2 separate regions of the Homo sapiens genome follow, and region 1 is linked to region 2. Evidence: promoter capture Hi-C in 16 types of primary human blood cells and fetal thymus (Javierre and others, 2016). All regions are on one chromosome and are shown on one strand. The core of a region is centred on a gene start or on the middle of the fragment in contact, and the rest is flanking DNA. Distances in the headings are between cores, read along the strand shown.

Region 1 (3,040 bases), core at 187-2,686, 220 kb before region 2:
GAGGCCCAGGTGGGCTGATCACAAGGTCAGGAGATCGAGACCATCCTGGCTAACACGATGAAACCCCGTCTCTATTAAAAATACAAAAAAATTAGCCAGGTGTGGTGGTGGGCGCCTGTAGTCCCAGCTACTCGGGAGGCTGAGGCAGGAGAATGGTGTGAACCCGGGAGGCGGAGCTTGCAGTGAACCAAGATCGCACCTCTGCACTCCAGCCTGTGGGACAGAGTGAGACTCCATCTCAAAAAAAAAAAAAATAGCTTATTTACAGAAATAATAGAAGAGAAAACTCTCCAAACCTAGAGAAAGATATACTCCACGTACAGGAAAAGTCAAAAGTCTCCAATTAGATTCAATCCAAATAATCAATAAATGTATATGTTCTAATTGATCCCTATCCAGCCATTCCCCTGTCTTTCCCTCTCCACAGGCTTTTCTGTTCCTTGAAACACAACAATATTGACATTAGACCAATTAATAACCATACATGGCCTCTAAGCGTTCACCAGAAAGAAAGTTTCATGTTTTTCATTTTAAGTCAAAAGCTAGAAATGATCAAGATTCCTGCGACAGGCATGTCAAAAGCTGAAATAGGTTGAAAGCCAGGACTTTGTGCTAAACAGTTAGCCAAGTTAGGAATACAAAGGAAAGTTCTTGAAAGAAAGTAAAAGCACTAGCCCAGTGAACACACAAATGATAAGAAAGCAAAACAGGCTTATTGCTGATATGGAAAAAGTTTTAGTGGTTTGGATGGAAGATCCAACCGGCCACAACATTCCCTCAAGCCAAAGCCTAATCCAGAGCAAGGACCTAACTCTCTTTAATTTTATGATGGCTGAGAGAAGTGAGTAAGCTGCAGGAGAAAATTTTAAGCTAGCAGATGTTTGTTTATAAGATTTAAGGAAAGAAGATTTTTCCATAGCATGAGTGCAAGGTGAAGCAGCAAGTGCTGATACAGAAGCTGCAGCAAGTTATCCAAAAGATCTAGCTAAGATCATTGATGCTGGTATCTACACTAAACAATGGATTTTCAGTGTAGATGAAACAGCCTTTTATTGAAAAAAGATGCTAATATAGTTTGGCTATTTGTCCCTATCCAAATCTCTGTTAAATTGCAATCCCCACTGCTGGAGGTGGGGTCTGGTGGGAAGTGTTTGGATTTTGGGGGTGGATCCCTCATGGCTTGGTGCTATCTTCACGATAGTGATTAAGTTCTCATGAGATCTGATTGGTTAAAAGGGTGTGGCATGTCTCCCTTCTCCCCCAACCAACTCCCTCTTGCTTTGGCTCCTGTTCTTGCCATGTGATGTGCCTGACCTCCTTTGCCTTCTGCCATGAATGGAAGCTTCCTGAGGCCTCCCCAGAAGAAGATGCCACTATGTTTCCTGTACAGCCTGCAGAACCATGAATCGATTAAATGTCTTTTCTTGTAAAGTACTCAATCTCAGATACTACTTTATGGCAGTGGAAGAATGGCCTAATACCGATGCTTTCTAGGACTTTCATAGCTAGAGAGAATTTAATGCCTGGCTTCAAAGCTTTAGGCTGACTCTCTTGTTATGGGCTAATACAACTGGTGACTTTAAGTTAAAGCCAATGATCATTTATCATTCCAAAAATCCCATGACCCTTAAGAATTGCGCTAAATCTGCTCTGCCTGTGCTCTATGTTGGAACAACAAAGCCTGGATGACAGCATATCTGTTTACAGCATGGCTTAATGAATATGTTCAGCTCATTGTTGAGACCCAATACTCAGGAAAAAAAGATTCCTTTGAAAACATTACTGCTCATTGACAATGCGACTAGTCACCCAAGAGCTCTGATGGAGATGTATAAGCAGATTAATGTTTTCATACCTGCTTAACACAATATCCATTCTGCAGCCCATGGTCAGACAAATGATCAAGGAGTCATTTTGACTTTCAAGCCTTATTATGTAAAGACTCTAGCTGCCATAGATAGTGTCTTCTGATGGGTGTGGGCAAAATTATCTAAAAATCTTCAGAAAGGATACACCATTTAAAATACCATTAAGAACATTTGCAATTCATAGATGGAGATCAAAATATCAACATTAACAAGAGTTTGGGAGAAGTTGATTCAAACTTTCATGGATGACTTTGAAGGGTTCAGGATTTCAGTGGAGGAGGTAGATGCAGATGTGATACAAATAGTAAGAGAACTAGAATTAGAGTCTGAAGATGTGACTGAATTGCTGCAATCTCCTAATAAAACTTGAATTGATGAGGAGTTGCTTCTTATGGATGAGCGAAGAAAGTGATTTCTTGAGATGGAATATATTCCTGGTGAAGGTACTGTGAACATTTTCAAAATGACAATATAGGATTTGGAATATTACATAAACAAAGTTGATAAAGCAGTGACAACATTTGAAGGGATTGACTTCAGTGTTGACAGAAGTTTTACTGTGAGTTAAATGCTATCAAACAGCATTGCATGCTACAGAGAAATCTTTCAGGAAAGAAAGAGTCAATTGATGTGGCCAATTTCATTGTTGTCCTATTTTAAGATATTGCCACAGCCACTTCAATTGTTAATAGCCATGACCCTGATTAGTCAGCGCCATCAACATTGAGGCAAGATCCTCCAGCAGCAAAAAGATTACCAGTAAACTGAAGGCTCAGATGATTGTTATCACTTTTTATCAATAAAATATTTTTTAATTAAAGTATGTATATTTTTTAGGCATAGCGCTATTATACACTACAATATAGTGTGAACACAACTTATATGCACTGGGAAACCCCAAAACTTATGTGGCTTGCTTTATTACTGTATTTGTTTTACTGAGGTTCTCTAGAACTGAATCCACAATACCTCTGAGGTACATCTATATATAGAAAACTCCACCAAAAAAACAAAACAAAACAAAAAAAAAACAACTGTTAGATTTAGTACATAAATTCAGTAAAGTTGTAGGATACAAAATGTACATACTAAAGTCAGTGGTGTTCCTATACATTAATAGTGAATTATCTCAAAAAGAAATCAAGAGAACAATCCCATTATGATAGATAAAA
Region 2 (2,912 bases), core at 224-2,723:
ATGGGTTGGGTTTTGGACATGTGCCATTTAAGATATTTGTCAAAAAGTTAAGGGAGGCAGTTGCATAGTCTTCTACAGTGGTCTCAATTTTTCTCTCTCCCCTTGCCTTGCTGCCCTTCCTGTCTCCACAGTTTCTTACTTAGAGCTTAGAGTCACTGTTAACAAAACAGTCAGATTGCATTGTAAAGGTTTTCTTTTCCCTTAGAACACTATATTATAATCTTGTGTAGTAAGCAAGGTACACAGTTGAAGTAAAGTGCTTTCTGATTGTCTTTTCAAGATAAAGTTCCATTTTCTTGAATTCTCTTTATTTGCAAAAATAACACTAAATATTAAAGCTTTCCTTTCTCTTTCCTCCACTGATTATAATATAGTTTTATGAGAAAAATACACTGTTGAAGAAATGTGCTTTTTGATGGTCTTAGTGGGATCAACTCCATTTTCTTTTCTGCAAATTTATTTCAAATAATTTTGTGTATTTATAGGGTACAGCGTGATGTTTTGATCTATCTATACATTATAGAATGCTTCAGTCAAGCTAGTTAATATACCCATCTCCTCATCAATTTATCTTTTCTTTGTGGTGAGAACATTGAAAATAAATTTTAGCAATTTTGAAATATGCATTATTATTAACTGTGATCACCATGTAGTGCAAGAGATCATTAAAACTTATTCTTTCAGTCTGACTCATATTTTGTACCTTTAGATCAACATTTTCCCTTTCCCCATCCCTCATCCCACCTTCCCTGGCCTCTAGTAATCATCCTTCTATAAGATAGACTTTATTAGATTCCACATTCAAATGAGATCATACAGTATTTGTCTTTCTGTGCCTGGCATATTTCCCTTAGCATAACGTTCTCTGGTTCCATCCCTGTTGTTGCAAATGAATTTCCTTCGTTAAGGCTGTATACTATTCCACTGTGTATATTTACCACATTTTCTTTATTTACTCATTCCTCATTGACACTTAGGTTGATTCCATATCTTGGTTATCATGAATAACGGTGAAATCGTACCAGCATTAAAAAGTTCAATTTTCTTGATTTTTCCGTATTTGCAAAGATATTTAAGTCAGCAGTAGCATGTAGAAAATTGCTAGTAATAATAGCTAATAATAATAGCTGTTATTTCCCTTTTCCTCTTTCTCCTCCACCTTAGTAAATAAAACCTGCCATAAAACTGTGATATGGAGAAACAAAATTACCAACCTCACTAAAGAAAACCTCACTAAAAAGGAAAATCTAGCTTATTTACCCCAATGTAACTACTGAGGGCTTTAAACAACTTAAACGTCTCTGCAACAAATTTTGTGCAAACACCTATGCTTGCATCTGGCATTTCCCCTCCCCGCCCTGCGGAAGTGGCCCAGCTCTCAGAGCTCCTCAGACCTCACCCCCAGGGTCCTGGGGCAGCACAGGGTCCTCCCTGGCCCAGGCGCCCGGTGGCCGAGAGCCTGCCCGCGAGCTCAACGCTGCTCAACGGTCTCTGTCCTTGGCTGTGGCTCCTGCGCTCTGGCTGAGCCATGTTCCTTCTCCTCGCCCTCCTCACTGAGCTTGGAAGACTGCAAGCCCACGAAGGTAAGTCCATGGGAGCCTCCCCTTTCTTCTTCGACTTTATAGCTGGGCTGGGCTCTTACTGGGAGCAGTTTCTTGTCATTCTGGGACCCTCCCCCTCTCCCTTCTGGGATCCCATGCTGGTGCTTCTGGTGTGTCAGGGACACCTTTCCACGCCAGGCCAGGGGGAACTAAAGGCCTTAGCGGAGGACCTGTTAGCGCTCTGCATCAGCGCCCATGGTCTCAGTGGCCCACACGCAGTGCGTCTTCTGGCATCTTCCCACTCTGTGAAGGAGGGTGGAGGTGGTGGAGTACTAACTGCCTTCAGCGAACTCCTCAGAGTCCTGAGGAAGCAAGTCTCTCATCGATTCTAAAAGGGAACCAGAGGGGCCTGTAGAACTGCAATGTCTAATTTTTTTTTCTTTTTTTGTGTCTTAGCCATTTTCAATGTGCTGTTGATTATGTAGTGAAATTTGTGGACTAGAAAGAGTGTGAGCACATGAGAGAACTTCTACTTAAAATTTTAGGCGCCACCATGCAGTCCGGGATAAGAACCCGTGCTTGACTGAGACGATTGTTGATGCAAAACAAAGACAAAAACAAACACATTTTCTTACTGCAGGTTCTGAAGGAATATTTCTGCATGTCACAGTTCCACGGAAGATTAAGTCAAATGACAGTGAAGTTTCAGAGAGGAAGGTAAATGATGAGGAATATTTATTCTATATTTAAAGCTTTATGGCAATTTTTATTTACCCTTATATTAAGTCAGATCATACTAATTTGTATTCATTGCCAAATCATAATATTTTGCCTGTGCTATTTTGTCTCCTACCGTGTTTTGATCCTCTTGTTCCCCCATTTCTGCTGCTTATTTCCCTGTCTTTTCTCTTCATCTCTTCTTAACATACTACTTGTTCACAATTTCCAAGAAATGCTCAGCAATCAAACTGGTGGGAAAAAGAAATCAATATAAAATATTCATGACCATGGTTCAGCCAACAAATTAACAAATTTTTTATTGTCCAGTAAATGATGTAGAAATTTGTCATAAGTAAAATTTAGACATGCAAAATTTGACCCACAAGCATCAGTCTTAATAGCACGTAATGTACAAAGAAATTTTAAAAAAGCAAAGAAAAAATAAAAATATCACATTTGCCCTATTATGATGAAAAATATTACAATAAGTAAATATTAACTGGAAAAAGAAGTTGGAAAATTACTAACCTGCCTGCTAGATTAAAAACTGATTAAACTGAAGGCATTCAGTCTTGCATGTTTTCTTGATTGAAACACCTGAAATTGACAGATTTAAAATGTTTTATTTTACAAACTGGAAGTCACAATATA

The links. Contacts are between HindIII fragments. The CHiCAGO score rates a contact against its expected background, and 5 or more counts as called.
Region 1: a contact is called between a fragment that was not itself captured here and the fragment with the promoter of ADAM18 in region 2, in 1 of 17 cell types (non-activated CD4 T cells). The highest score is 5.7, in non-activated CD4 T cells.

What each region holds. Positions count from the first base shown.
Region 1 is chr8:39,358,311-39,361,350 of GRCh38, forward strand. It overlaps the pseudogene ADAM5. Among named protein-coding and RNA genes, the nearest start is that of ADAM18, 220 kb to the right of the region's middle. The HindIII fragment of the contact is 193 bases long and covers 1,341-1,533 here.
Region 2 is chr8:39,583,095-39,586,006 of GRCh38, forward strand. It overlaps ADAM18 (ADAM metallopeptidase domain 18), which reads left to right and starts at 1,474. Exons shown (of 20, transcript NM_014237.3): 1 at 1,474-1,583; 2 at 2,182-2,258. The coding sequence starts at 1,529. RefSeq lists an enhancer at 1,640-2,139. The HindIII fragment of the contact is 1,955 bases long and covers 337-2,291 here.